2 separate regions of the Homo sapiens genome follow, and region 2 is linked to region 1. The links are contacts of gene promoters, found by promoter capture Hi-C in blood cells and fetal thymus (Javierre and others, 2016). All regions are on one chromosome and are shown on one strand. Each heading gives the region's core, a stretch centred on a gene start or on the middle of the fragment in contact. The rest is flanking DNA. Distances are from core to core; before and after follow the strand shown. Region 1 holds the start of TOP3A (DNA topoisomerase III alpha). Region 2 overlaps LOC105371554 (a long non-coding RNA gene).

Region 1 (7,575 bases), core at 4,770-7,269:
ACGTTTAAAACAATGGATTCCTTTGTATAATTCTTTCTGATCCTGAATTTGGCAATGATTTCTTGGTTATGATACCAAAAATATAACCAACATTGCTCCAAAGAAGATAAGAAATGGCCAACAAGCATATGAAAAGATGCTCAATGTTATTAATCATTAGGAAAACACAAATCAAAACCATGATGAGGTACCACTCCATACCCATTAGGATAATAATTAAATAGAATAATAAAAAAAACAAGTAAAATAACAAGTGTTGTTGAGGATGTGGAGAAATTGGACATTGTCAGTGGAAATGTAAAATGCTTTGGCCACTCTGGAAAATGTTGGTGTTTCCTCAAAAAGTTACAGAGTTATCACATGTCACAGCAATTCCACTCCTACAAATTTACCCAAAAGAATTAAAAACGCATTCAAATACACTTTGGGAGGCTGAGACAGTTGGATCACTTTAGGTCAGGAGTCCGAGACCAGCCTGGCCAACATGGTGAAACCCCATCTCTACTAAAAATACAACAATTGGCCAGGTGTGGTGGTGTGTGCCTGTAATCCCAGTTACTTGGGGAGGCTGAGGCAGGAGAATCACTTGAGCCCAGGAGGTGGACGTTGCAGTGAGTGGAGATGGCGCCACTGCACTCTAGCCTGGGTGACAGAGCGAGACTGTCTCAAAAAACAAAAAACAAACAAAAAAACACATTCAAACAAAAACTTGTACATGAAAGTCTATAGAAGTTCTTTTTTTTTTTTTTTTTTGAGATGGAGTCTGGCTCTGTCGCCCAGGCTGGAGTCCAGTGGCGTGATCTCGGCTCACTGCAAGCTCCACCTCCCGGGTTCACACCATTCTCCTGCCTCAGCCTCCCGAGTAGCTGGGACTACAGGCACCTGCCACCACGCCCGGCTAATTTTTTTGTATTTTTAGTAGAGATGGGGTTTCACCGTGTTAGCCAGAATGTTCTCAATCTCCTGACCTCGTGATCCACCTGCCTCGGCCTCCCAAAGTGCTGGGATTACAGGTGTGAGCCACCACGCCCAGCGAATGTCTATAGAAGTTCTATTCACAATAGTCAAAAGATGAAAACAACCCAAATGTCCATCAACTGATGTATGGTAAAATGAAATATGATCTATCCATATGATAGAATATTATTCAGCCATAAAAAGGAATGAAGAGGCCAGGTGCAATGGCTCATGCCTGTAATTCCAGCACTTTGGGAGGCTGAGGTGGGCGGATCATGAGGTCAGGAGTTTGAGACCAGCCTGGCCAACATAGTGAAACCCTGTCTCTACTAAAAATACAAAAAATTAGCTGGGCGTGGTGGTGGGTGCCTGTAATCCCAGCTACTTGGGAGGCTGAGGCAGGAGAATCGCTTGAACCTGGGAGGCGGTGGTTACAATGAGCCGAGATCTCATCACTGCACTCCAGCCTGAGCGACAGTGAGAGAGACTCCTTCTCAAAAACCAAAAAAAAGGAATGAAGAACTGATATTAATACATGGTACAACATGGATGGACTTCAAGATTATGTTAAGTGAAAGAAACCTGACACAAAAGAGCATGTAAGATATGGGTCCACTTATAGGAAATGCCCAGAACAGGCAAATCCATGGGGAAAGAAGGCAGATTCGTGGTTGTGAGGGGCTGAGGAGAGGGTAAGGGGAGTGACTGCTTAATGGATATGAGGCTTCCTCTTGGGGTGAAAAAAAACCTTCTGGAACTAGATAATGATGATGGTGGCACATTTAGTGGACAAAATTCCACTGAACTATATACTTCAAAATGATTAAAATGGTCAATTTTCTGTGCATTTTACCACTCAACCTACATGGCTCTCTAAGATTCTTATGATCTGCACTCAACTGCTGCTCTTGCTTAACTCATCGGTGTCTCTTCCCACCACACCACACCCCTAACTTCTCACTGTTTCTGAATATGCCAAGCAGTTTCAAGCCACTAGGTTGTTCTTTACAGTTTCTACTGCCTGGTAAAACTTTCAGGCTCAGCTCAAACATGCATTCAACAACTATGAATTTTTTTTTTTTTTTTTGAGACAGAGTCTCACTCTGTTGCCCAGGCTGGAGTGCAGTGGCACAATCTCGGCTCACTGCAAGCTCCACCTCCCGGGTTCATGCCATTCTGCTGCCTCAGCCTCCCGAGTAGCTGGGACTACAGGCGTCTGCCAGCATGCCCGGCTAATTTTTTGTATTTTTAGTAGAGACAGGGTTTCACCGTGTTAGCCAGGATGGTCTCAATCTCTTGACCTCATGATCCGCCCACCTCAGCCTCCCAGAGTGCTGGGATTACAGGTATGAGCCACCATGCCTGGCCTAATTTTTTTTTGAGATGGAGTCTCACTCTGTCGCCCAGGCTGTAATGTAATGGCGCAATCTAGGCTCACTGCAAGCTCCACTTCCCGGGTTGAAGCGATTCTCCTGCCTCAGCCTCGTGAGTAGCTGGGATTACAGGACCCCGCCACCACACCTGGCTAATTTTTGTATTTTTAGTAGAGATGGGGTTTTGCCATGTTGGCCAGGCTGGTCTTGAACTCACGACCTCAGGTGGTCTGCCCGCTTGAGCCTCCCCAACTGCTGGGATTACAGGCATGAGCCGCTGCGCTCAGCCCAAGTATTAATATTTATTGAAAGTTTCCTGCATTCCAGACACCATATTAGGCGTTAGGACATAGCAATTAACAAAATATAATCACTGTCCTTTGGAGTTTAGAGTCCAAGGAGAGGCAGTGACAAAAATCAAATAAATGATCGCACATCCCATTATTTAACTGTAACTAGTAGATGCCTTTCAAGTAGAATAGAGTGCTATGACAGCATGTCAGTAAGGGTCTCTGACCTAGTGTGGGGGAACAGGTGGTGAGGGAAGGATTCCTTGAAGATGAGACATTTCAGCAGCCTCTCTCCTCTAGCCGCCCCAGATGCCAAAAGGAAAGATGGCCAAGGGGAAGAAGTGGCCCTGGCCCCTGTTGTCATGGAGCAGCAGTAGGCCAAAAAGGTGGTAAATCCCATTTGAGAAAAGCCCTAATAATTTTGGCATTGGATATCTAGCCTAAGGGCCTCACCCACTTTGTCAAATAGTCCCGCTATAAATGGCTGCTGCGGCAGAGCCGCTGTACTCTATAAGTGGCTGATGTGCCACCTGGGATTGACCAGTTCACCCAGGCCTCAGACTACCAAACTTAAGCTACTCAATTGCTTAAGCTGGCCCACAGTACAGACAAGAGACAGAGCAAGGGATGAGATCGAAACCGTTGGCCCAGGCTGAGAAGAAAGCTTCCAGCAAAGGGGATGTCGCTACTAAGAGACCACCTACACTTCGAGCAGGGGTTGACACCGTCACCAACTTGGTAGAGAGCATGAAGGGTCAGCTGGTGGTGGATCCCATTGAGCTGGTTGTCTTCCTGCCTGTGCTGTGTCCTAAGATGGGGATTCTCTACTGCACCGTCAAGACTGTGGTGTCAAATTCCACAGGAAGACCTGCACCACTGTCACCTTCACAAAGGTTAACTTTCTGGTAGACAAAGGAGCTCTGGCTAAGCTGGTGGGACAAATTACAACGACATATGAGATCTGCTGTCACTGGGGAGGCAATGCCCTGGGTCCAAAATCTGTAGCTTGCATTACCAACCTAGAAAAGGCAAAGGCTAAAGAATTTGCCACTAAACTGGGTTAAGTACACACTGTTGTGTTTTCTGTACATAAAAATAAAAATTCTCTTTCCAAGAAAAGTCTTTCCTTTTGGCTGGAACTGCCATCTTGGAGTAATTTGCCAAAATGACGAACACAAAGGAAAAGAGGACGAGGCATCTGATGTATGTTCTCCTGGCCTTATAGAAAACATGGAGTTCGAGCTGGGCACGGTGGCTCACGCCTGTAACCCTAACACTTTGGGAGGCTAAGGCGGGTGGCTCACCTGAAGTCAGGAGTTCAAGACCATCCTGGCCAACACAGTGAAACTACTAAAAATACAAAAAATTAGCTGGGCATGGTGACAGGCACCTGTAATCCCAGCTACTAGGGAGGCTGAGGCAGGAGAATCGCTTGAACCCGGGAGGCGGAGGTTGCAGTGAGCTGAGATCACACCATTGCACTCCAGGCTGGGCAACAAGAGCAAAGCTCCATCTCAAAACAAACAAACAAAACAAAACAAAAATATGGAGTTTCTCTGGCCACAGACACCAGAATCTACAATGAAGGTGATATTGAGGACTTCGTGAGAATGCATACTGTTCAAAAGGGAATGACCCACAAATGTTACATGGCAGAACTGGAAAAGTCTATGTTACCCAGCATGCTGTTGGCACTGCTGCGAACAAGGGCTAGATTCTTGCCCAAAGAATTAATGTTTCTATTGAGCATATTAAGCACTCTAAGAACCAAGATCTTTCCTGAAATGTGTGAAGGAAAATGATCAAAAAAGAAGCAAGTCAAAGAGAAAGGGTTCACCTGAAGTGCCAGCCTGTTCCATTGAGGGAAGTACACTTTGTGAGAACCAATGGAAAAGAGCCTGAGCCGCTGGAACCTATTCCCTATGGATTCATGGTATGATAGGGTAAAAATAGATAAATACAAGACCTCTGGATTGCTTAAAAAAAAAAAAAAAAAAGGGAGAGAGAGAGAATGAATTCAGCAGAGCCTTGAAGGATAAGAAGTTAGGCGTAGGAGAACCATTTTTCAATGTCTACTTCATTGTCTAGAAGTAGACAAACCTTGGGGCTGGTCACCAGGACTTCTAGCACTGGAAACAGGTAAAGCTGTCAGCCAGCATTCACACAACCCTGGCTCCACTCCCACTATCCTTGATCTGGAAACAGGTCTTAGGACCCTGGGAACTAAAGAAAAATGAGCAGGGAACTTCCACCCATGCTCTTAGAAAAGTTCTCCAGAAAACCATTTCAGGATCTACTTTTGTTATCTGAGATATTTTCCTGGACAGCTCTTTATGTCTCCCGTGGCACCTCCTTTATGAAACTTTTTCTTATCCTCCCTTGCGTTTGTGCCTCCCGTGTGTGTAGAACACATTCTTACCACTTACCTCTCTCAGAATCAGTTCATTCGGGTAGGAACAGGGCTGACTTCAAATCTAATCCCCAAACCTTACCGTGTTGCTGTAAGTGTGCACTGTGAGGCTGGAAAGTCACAAGGGCTGTAGAATGCAGTGGCTGTGGCACAGGATGGGGAGGGCTAGGTTGGCTGGGGAACGATCGGGCAGGGCTTGAATGCCAAGTTAAGGGAATCTGGTCAGTAGTTCCCAAATGAATTTCTGAATCTCTAGGGAAAAACAGTAAAATACACACTTCCCCAGCCTCACACAAGACCCGAAGGGCAGCCAGCGCCCGAGGCGATTCCGAGAATCAGACAAGTTTGGGAACCTGCTAAGCGCAAGCAAAACAAAAGGTTTCCACGCAAATGAGTGAGATGTATCAACTACGTTTTAAAATGCACTCCAGTCCGAGAGCAGACAGGAGGCCACTGCAATAATCCAGACGAGGGGCAGTGAGGCCTGAGAAATGGGAGATAATCGCCTTCATCTCGATTCTTGGCGCCCACCACGCTGTCCCGCTCGGTGGGCCTCCCTTAAGGCACGCAGCTGATCGGAACGCGCTTTCTTACCCGCCTCATGCGACCGTTTGACAGCAGGTCGGCGATCCCCTTGGCCGCGTCGTTTTTTTCGGCCACACAGAGGACTTTCCGCACGCCTCGGAGGGCCATCTCCATGGCGGCGCGGGAAAAGGCACGGTCTTCGGGCCGTCGCAGCCACCGGAGCGCGTAGCGGGCGACAGGAAAGATCATCCTCAGACCTCGCGCCCGGAGCCGCTCCCCGGCTGCCGGCGCATCCTGGGGAAGCCAGAGATGAGGCTCAAATGGCGCCCACCGAAAGGGAACCAGAGCCTCGCTTCGGTCACGTCCCCACCAGCCTGCTGGCCTTTGGAGCTTCAGTCACTGAGCCTTTCCCGTGCCGCAGCCGCCGCCTCAGCACCGAATCCAGTATCTTGGCGTGGAACTTCCGCCCGCCTTCTCCAGCTACTTCCGCCAGGCGCGCGCCCCACAGCGACCTGGAACTACAACTCCCAGACTGTCCCGCGCCCCTCGTCCAAGCACGTTCCCCTCTGCCACCTTCCCGCCGCCCCCGTCTCACTCCGCCCCTCTTTCCCCTCCTTCCCGGCAGTGGTTGGTTAATCGGACTCCTTCTTGCGGGGAGCCGCCAGACACTCCCATCCAAGGCCTCTTTCTCATGACTTTTTAATCTCCTGCTCGGAAGTCTACGAGGACGCTTCCGGGTCACGCGGCGCGGACACCAGGAGTCATGTGATGTCAAGATGGCGGCGCCGCGGTAGCAGGATCCGGGTTGTGGCGTCCTAGGAGCCGCGACGGTTTCTGCCCTCGGGCAGTGAGGGGCAGCAGCGCTTGGCTGACCCCTGCGGCGTCCCGTAGCCTCGCGTTAAGCCTTGTTCAGAGCGGGGGCTTTTGCTGTCGCAGTGGGTTCCGGAGAGTGCAGGTGATTTCGCAGCAGGTTTCTTGTGCTGGCCGCGCTCGCCGGACGAAGAAGAGAAGGGCAGTTGGGCCTGCGGCCTTGGCGTTCATGAGGCCTCAGAGAGCTCCGGAGGAGCTACAACTGTGAGGGGGCTGCTAGAGTTCTTCTCCTCGGGTGTGTGAGAAGCAGCCTAGGACCCCGGGTTCGGGGAGTCGCAAAGAAGGCCGTAAGGGCTTCACTTCCTTCTCCGGAGGCCTGCCTTCTGCGCGTCGATTAACACCGCATTCTTTCCCACTTCCTCTCAATGTTTTCTTCATATATCTGGAAATATGATCAGCGCCCCTGACGTAGTGGCCTTCACCAAAGAGGAAGAGTATGAAGAAGAGCCTTACAATGAGCCGGCCCTGCCTGAGGAGTACTCGGTGCCGCTCTTCCCCTTCGCCAGTCAGGGTGCTAACCCCTGGTCAAAACTGTCCGGGGCCAAGTTTTCGAGGGACTTCATTCTTATTTCCGAGTTCTCTGAGCAGGTGGGACCCCAACCCTTACTGACCATCCCCAATGACACCAAAGTTTTTGGCACTTTTGATCTCAATTACTTCTCCCTGCGTATCATGTCTGTGGATTACCAGGCTTCCTTCGTGGGCCATCCTCCTGGATCTGCCTACCCCAAGCTGAACTTCGTGGAGGACTCCAAGGTGGTGCTGGGAGATTCTAAGGAGGGCGCCTTTGCATACGTGCACCACCTTACCCTATACGACCTGGAGGCCCGTGGCTTCGTGAGGCCGTTTTGCATGGCTTATATCTCTGCAGACCAGCATAAAATCATGCAGCAGTTCCAGGAGCTTTCAGCCGAATTTTCCAGAGCTTCTGAGTGCTTGAAGACTGGCAACAGGAAGGCATTTGCTGGGGAACTTGAAAAAAAGCTGAAAGACTTGGATTACACCAGGACAGTGCTACACACAGAAACGGAGATCCAGAAGAAAGCCAACGACAAAGGCTTTTACTCATCTCAGGCAATTGAGAAAGCCAATGAACTGGCCAGTGTGGAGAAGTCCATCATTGAACATCAAGACCTGCTGAAGCAGATCC
Region 2 (7,511 bases), core at 4,113-6,612, 1.8 Mb before region 1:
CGCGCGCCTGTAGTCCCAGCTACTCGGGAGGCTGAGGCAGAAGAATCGCTTGAAGCCGGGAGGCAAAGGTTGCAGTGACCCGAGATTGCGCTACTGCACTCCAGCCTGGGCGACAGAGCGAGGTTCCGTCTCGAAAAAAAAAACAACGAAAAGGGGACTCACTTCGGAGAAGCTGCCCTCTCTGCAAACTTATTTGAGTAAGGGACTGAAGACTGAAGTTAGGGAGAGGAAAGGGATACACGTCTGTTAGTGCGAGTTGCGTGTCTTGTTAGTGCGAACTGGAACCCAAGTTTCCTTTGGGAAGACTTTGGCGAAAGAGTACAGGAACACCAGCCACTCCAGAAAGAGACCGCTCCTCTTGAACCCGCCCACTTAACTCCTCCCGCAGGCTCTACGTTCGAATGCCTCCACCCTGATTTTAGAAGGTTATAGGCGCACAATCAAGGAAATGTCGACAGAGGGCGTCCTTGCTCTAAGCAGCATTGTCCACCTGCTTCCTGAGCGGGGTTCAGTGATTATTCTCTGAACCTGGACTTCTGGCGTTGTGCCTCTATACTCCATTTCCCTGCTTCAAAGCTCTCCTAATTGACTTTATTTTCTGACACTCCCCCACTTTACCCCCCAGGAGTGTTGCTTCTTTTATTTCTTTGCCTGGATGGTCGTTTGGCTTAGTAAATAGACCTAGACCCCACCCCATGGTGTAGAAGCAGTTGGTGAACTTCTATAAAGGGCCAGACAGTACACATTTTAGGCTCTGCGATCTCCTTATGGTTGAAAGTTCTACTGTTGTAGCACAAAATCAGCCTTGGACAGTAAGCAAATAGGTGTGGCTGTGTTCCAACAAAACTTCACTGAAATTTGAATTTCACTGTAATTTTCACGTGTCACGAAATATTTTAACCGTTTAAAAATGTAAAAATAATGTGTGTGTGTGTGCGCGCGCGTGTTAGCTTGGGCCGCCAGCTAGCAGTAGTTTGCCAATTCTTGGTAGAGAAAGAGAGCAGTCTCCACCTAGGTCTGGGAATTCAGGGAGAGAGGTGCTGGCCAAAATAACAGTTCATGGCCTGCTTTTCTAGATCTGGGAGTGAGTAGGACTACTACTAGACTCTCATTTGACCTCTCCTTTGGGAATCGCAGGGTATATAGTGCCCACTGATTGGTGGGAATTTTGTCAAGGTGGGTGTGATAATCTGGCTTCTTTCCCTTCCCAGCTCTTTATAGTCTTTCTTTCTTTTTTATCGTTCTCTCCCTCTCTCTCTTTAGAGATGTGGTCTTGCTATGTTGCCCGGGCTGAGTGCAGTGACTATTCACAGGCCGGATCTAGTGCACTGCAGTCTTGAACTCCTGGCTTACAGTCCTGCTGGTTCTGAGAGGCAGGGGAAGAAACGGCCACCATGCTCTGCAGCTAGGTCTCAGGTAGGTTTGGGCCATCTCTCTTCTCTGGTTTCTAGGCACATCTCAACTCAGGATGCACCTTTCCAGGGAGAGGTGCATCCTGAGTTGAGGTAAGTATTCATCCTGGTTGCAAGATGAATACTTTTCATTCTTCCACTACACAGTCATTTTAAAGTTAAGTTTCATCTATGATGGGTATTCTGGGTCCTAGAAGAGAGGTGGTACCTGGGTCAGTCCCTTTCCAGTCTGCAGTCTAACACATACAGATTAAATGAATGTGAAAATAAAAAAATGCTTTGTAATTACAAAGCACTCTGCAAATACAAATGTTGCAGTAAAGAAAAAAAGTATGGTTGACATCTTTCTTTATTCTAGAAAGTGCAAATCTATCTTTTTTGAATACTTAGCACTTCTCTGAACTACTGTATCTTGCCAGCACTTTGCACAGTGCATATTAGAATAACACATTCAGTCAATATTTATTGAGTGCCTACTTGCCTATTATGCATCTCTTAGTGCCTTTCTGGTTTTTATTTTTATTTTTATTTTTTTGAGACTCAGTCTCACTGTGTCACCCCAGGCTGGAGTGCGGTGGCGTGATCTCGGCTCACTGCAACCTCCTCCTCCTGGGTTCAAGTGATTCTCCTGCCTCAGCCTTCCGAGTAGCTAGCACTACAGGCACGTGTGCCACCATGTCCGGCTAATTTTTTGTATTTTAGTAGAGACGGGGTTTCACCGTGTTGGCCAGGATGGTCTCGATCTCCTGACCTCGTGATCCGCCCACCTCGGCCTCCCAAAGTGCTGGGATTACAGGCGTGAGCCACGGTGCCTGGCCATGTTCTGCATTTCACCCAACCACAGATTGGAAATATTGAGCAGAAAACCCTCAAAATAATGCAATAGAAAATGTAAAACTATCTACATGGTATTTACATTGTATTAGGTATTATAAGTAATCTAGAGATGATTTAAAGTATTTGGGAGAATGTACATCAGTTATATGCAAATACTATGCCATTTTTATATCAGCTACTTGAGCATCCAAGGATTTTGGTATCCATGGGAGTCCTAGAACCAATCCTGGAACCAATAATGAGGGATGACTCTAATGTAAAATATAGTGCTCAGCATGAATATTCCAGGTATAGTTTAAAATCAGTTTACAGTGGAGAGCATTACTTTTCAATTTCTGGATGCAGATCTTATTTTGATATGGCCCAAAATTGTTCTTCAAGAAAAAACCTCTACTCTTGTAGGCATGAAACAGCCAACTTTCTTGTAAGACCAATAGGACTAAAATGATTATTGGTGAATAAGAGAGTGGCTCCTAGCTCCCCTGTCAAAGTTATAATAAATTTAGAAAGAAGAGGTTTGGGGATGAAAACAATTTAGTTTTAGGTTAAACCACATAAGGTACTTATGAGATAGTTCTGAGTGATCACTGACTATATGGCTTTGAAACTTGGGATAGATCTGAGTGAAAAATTGGTAGGAGGAGGTGCATCCTGAATTGAGATGTTCTCATTTAAACATTTGAATTTAAGAAACTGTATGGGAGGGGGACCTCTTTTGGCTTTGGAGCCTCCCACCACCCCCGTCTCTGTACAAGGGAGGTGCTTATTTCTTCCTTCTCCCTTCTTTCTTTCCTCTTCTTGCCTATTAAACTATCTGCCCCTTAAAACCACTCCACATATGTCCATGTTGTTTTATCTAAACCAGCATGAGGACCAAGAACCCTGGTGTTCCTCCACTCATCGGAGCCGTATCATTTTGGTGCATTGGCCAGGAAAGGAAATTCAATCATGAGACTGGTGAGTATGGAGCGGATTTCAACTTTATATCTGTTCTTTAGTCTCAAGGCTCTCTTCCAGCTACCCTGTCGCCAAAACTTTCTTTCTATCTGTGGTCTCTCTGTGTGTCTAATGTGCAGGATTCTGTCTGTTAGAAAAGATCGTGAATCACGGCATGCAGTAACTCAATAAGTGTCTCTCTCTCTCTCTACGTTTTCTCTGGCAAGCACATGGTATTTCTAAGCCACCTAGTAGAAATCAGGCTGTAGGCCTCTTCTAAGAATGGGAAGTTTCTGCTTTTAACAGTTAGGAGTAGGATGTCTTCCATGGCCAAATTTTAGTCTCAATATTGTCCCACTGGCAGGAAAACGGCCATTCAGTTCCTATGTTCCTTTAAGCCATCTATTCTGGCTCCTACTAAGACAGTGCTTAATTAGTAAGGGGATTTTAAGTCCAGAAGTTAACCGGAACCATTCTTCTATGGGTAAATGCTTTAGCATGGGCTATAATGGCAGGATATAGAGTTCAATCTATCACATCCCCTCCCTTAAAGGGTCTCTTCCCAATTACATGGTTTTTCTTCAAATCCATTTTTTGGGAGGCACACAGGCCACCCAAGTCTAGGAGGTCAAAGGTAAATAAAAGGCAGAGAACTGATTGCTTGGGAACAGCGTGACTATGGCCCAAAACTCAGATCCTCTGGTGCCATGGCTTGGAGGGTCACACCTGCAGTCATGGGTGGAACATTTAAATGAGTGCTGGGAATCCAGGAACAAAAGAGAAAATAGTTGGGGGACGCCTCCTACTGCTTTCTTCTCCATCCTGGATTTCATACCAAAAGGAAGGAGACTAAAAGGACGCTTTTATTCTCACTTCTCTTTCTAGATGGGTAACAGACCATCTTCAACATGCACTTCTCTTGAGTGTATTTTGAAGCACTAGGACTCTTTCGACCTTGAAACTTTGAAGAAAAAGTGGCTTATTTTCTTTTGCAGTCATATCAGGCAGGCCCAGGGAAAACAGTACCCCAAAATTTAAAAAGTAACTTTCAGGGAAGTCATCTGAGGGTCCCCCTTATTTGGGGCCCCTTCAAGTTCCCTTCTCATTGCAGGACCTTTGGCAAGTAAAGGGAGACTTAGGCTGGTTTTCTGATGACCTTAATAAGTATATGGAAGCTTTCCAATATTTAACTCAGGTATGTAACCTCTCATGAAGGGATGTTATGTTGCTGCTAAGGCAAACCCTTACTGTAGGTAAAATAAGCAGCTCTGCAAGCAGAAGAAAATTTTGGAGATAAGTAATGTCTCCTATAGAAGGCCAAAAGGGAAAAGAAAAAAATAGGGAAGGCAAAGGGGAAACACCATTCCCAATAGGAAAAGAGGCAATACCTCCTGACAACCCTAATTGGAACTCCTTTCTGTGGTGTTTTTCCTTGTTTTGCAGTTTAAAATGGCTTCTCTTTTATAATGTTCTTCCAACATGGAAAAGGTTAATTTTCCAAACCTTAAAATGTTTGGCATAGAGTTGAGCTAGGGGGAAGGAAACCCAGCCCAGAAGCCTGATATGCTGGCAAAAGGGTAAAAATTTCTTACCAGTCAGGCTTTTGGCTTCTCTCTTCCTGTGGAAACCGGCAAAAGGGATAATAAAGATCATTGTTTATGTTTTCTTTAAATTTATAGTTAATGAAAAAGGATTTGTGAGGTTGGTCTTAAGCTGTAAACAATCTGCTCTTCTTTGTATGTCTTTCTGTGTGGTTCTGTTAAAGAAAAGGTATCTTAGGTCAGGATGCAGGCCCAGAAACCCATAAGCCTGCTGTTCAAACCAGCCCAGCAAAGTATCCAGTGGCAAACTTGGCTACAGGCCTCCATCTTGTTTCATGTCATGGGAACATAATCTGTAACCATGTGGCAATACTTTGTTTTTGTCTCCGCCATTTTACAATGGTGGCTGTCTTCTTGTGCTAAATCAGATAAGCCAGTTTGTCAGTCTGGGCTGTGTCAGCTGATCCATCAAGGGCAGGGTTTACAAAACATCTTAAGCACTGATCATAACAGCCGTTTAGGGAGGGTCAAAATCTTGTAGCCTCCAATTGCATGGCTCTTGGGCCATGGTTTCTAATCCTGTAGCTAGTTTCTTGGTCTGGTCCCCAGGCAAAAGGGAAGTATATCTTGAGAAGCAGCTGCTATCTTCTTTGTTTTAGACTATAAACTGTAAACCAAGCTCCTCCCCAACTTGATTCAGCCTATGCCCGGGGATGGGCAAGGACAGTTTGGGGACTGGAAACAAAATGGAGTTGTTTGGGTGAGATCTCTTCCACTGTCTCAGTCACAATTTTGCAGTGACAGTTTCAAAAGCTGCCTGTCCGGGTGGATCACGAGGTCAGGAGTTCAAGACCAGCCTAGTCAACATGACGAAACCCTGTCTCTACTAAAAAAACAAAAATTAGCCAGGCGTGGTGGCATGCACCTGTAGTCCTGGCTACTCAGGAAGCTGAGGCAGAGGAATTGCTTGAACCCAGGAGGCAGAGGTTGCAGTGAGCCAAGATCATGCTACTGCACTCCAGCCTGGGTGACAGAGCAAGACTCTGTCTCAGCAAAAAAAAAAAAAAAAAAAAAAAGCTGCCTGTCACTCCTTTAAAAATACCTTTTACACTCCTGGTTAAGTCATAACCTAATTAAAGCTCTTTAGTTTTACCTGTGAGGTTACTTATTGTAAAGTTCAAAAGCCAAAAATCTTAACTGCTTGGCATGGCTAAGGTCAAGTAACAAAGGATTTAGAAGAATTTTCTTAAAGAGTGCTCAGCTTAATTAAAAGTGGAAAATCAAGTTATAGGTATATTAAAAGGCCTTTATGTTTTTTCTTTTCTTGAATCTTGTTTTTCTGGAAAAAGGCTCATCTCAGCCGACTGAATTATTTTTCTCCATTTTTTGTCTTACTACTCTTAATGCATGTATAAAAGGCCCTAAGATAACTTCTGGTAGCATGGGACTCCTCAGGAAACACAGAGGAGGCGCCACAGACCCCGTTTTGGGAAAAAACCCTCTGTTTTCCTCATGAAACCCCAGGAATTAAAAGCAAATAATTCCCTCTCAAAATCAAAGGCTCTGTTCTGTTTTGCATTGTGTTATCTGATGGTTTTGAGTTTTGGGGGTATCAGAAATTACTTCGCATTTTTACAAGAAAGCTTTGGTGTGTAATAATCAAGTAGAAAATACACTGTAAGGGATGGCTAATAGTAGTTATAAATCAGGGATGCTCTTGGCCACCTGGAAGATAAGGAAACATCCTCACCCTGCACTGGGAGATGAGACTCCCATCAGGGATGGGCTAATTACAAAATAAGCCAATTGGCTTTGGGCTGCCTTGCAATGCAATGCATGGTAGAAGCACTACACCGTCCTCTCCCATAGTATCTATATGGTCTTTTCATAAATTAAGCATTAAAATAAAAGCATAGCAAGGAGGTCTTAAGACACTAATCTGCCCCTTAGTAAAAGGGTTATAAAAGGTTTGTAAAGATTTCACCTTGGCCGGGTGCGGTGGCTCACACCTGTAACCCCAGCACTTTGGGAGGCCGAGGCGGGCAGATCACCTGAGGTCGGGAGTTCGAGACCAGGCTGACAAACATGGAGAAGCCCCGTTTCTACTAAAAATACAAAATTAGCCAGGGGTGGTGGCACATGCCTGTAATCCCAGCTACTTGGGAGGCTGAGGCAGGAGAATCGCTTGAACCTGGGAGGCGGAGGTTGCAGTGAGCTGAGATCATGCCCTTGCACTCTAGCCTGTGCAACAAGAATGAAACTCCATCTCAAAAAAAAAAGAAAAAAAAAGATTTCACCTCATGGTCAAATTGGTTAGGATTTGATGGAATAATCTATAAGGTTTCGTGTAAACAAATTGGGGTTAACATTAATAAACTAATGCAAGGGTAAAATTTTGCTTTGAACAAGATTTTCATTTCATAATAAAGGCTAATGAAAGGATTTTGCCTTTTGAGTCATCATTTTGGCAAAATAATTTATGGCAATCTGGAAATTGTCCTTCCTGATACCTAACTTTTTGAATGGTTTAGAGGGGCCCTGAAACATTCAGAAAAGAGGTAAACAGGATTATTTGACATGTTTAGTCACATGAGATTGCCAAAATGATGTCCAATCTTATTTAAGTTATAGTTTGGTGAATAATACTAATATATGTTTCAGAATTGTATGGGATTTCTAAGATTCTAATGTCTAAGTATATGCTATCAATCATAATTAAGGGTAAAGTTATTGTAAACCATGAAGATAAATAAACTTCTTTGTCAGTCATGTTTTTAACTATCCT

The links. Contacts are between HindIII fragments. The CHiCAGO score rates a contact against its expected background, and 5 or more counts as called.
Region 2: a contact is called between a fragment that was not itself captured here and the fragment with the promoter of TOP3A in region 1, in 1 of 17 cell types (erythroblasts). The highest score is 5.6, in erythroblasts.

What each region holds. Positions count from the first base shown.
Region 1 is chr17:18,308,975-18,316,549 of GRCh38, forward strand. It overlaps TOP3A (DNA topoisomerase III alpha), which reads right to left and starts at 6,020. Exons shown (of 19, transcript NM_004618.5): 1 at 5,625-6,020. The coding sequence starts at 5,804. It overlaps SMCR8 (SMCR8-C9orf72 complex subunit), which reads left to right and starts at 6,319. Exons shown (of 2, transcript NM_144775.3): 1 at 6,319-7,575. The coding sequence starts at 6,816. It also overlaps the pseudogene RPL7AP65 and the pseudogene RPL21P121. RefSeq lists enhancers at 5,069-5,592, 5,540-5,629, 5,640-5,989, 6,117-6,640, 6,330-6,379 and a silencer at 6,140-6,189. The HindIII fragment of the contact is 5,874 bases long and covers 3,283-7,575 here.
Region 2 is chr17:16,536,583-16,544,093 of GRCh38, forward strand. It overlaps LOC105371554 (a long non-coding RNA gene), which reads left to right. Exons shown (of 4, transcript XR_007065637.1): 2 at 1,264-1,416; 3 at 3,115-3,206; 4 at 4,071-7,504. Among named protein-coding and RNA genes, the nearest start is that of ZNF287, 29 kb to the right of the region's middle. The HindIII fragment of the contact is 2,009 bases long and covers 4,359-6,367 here.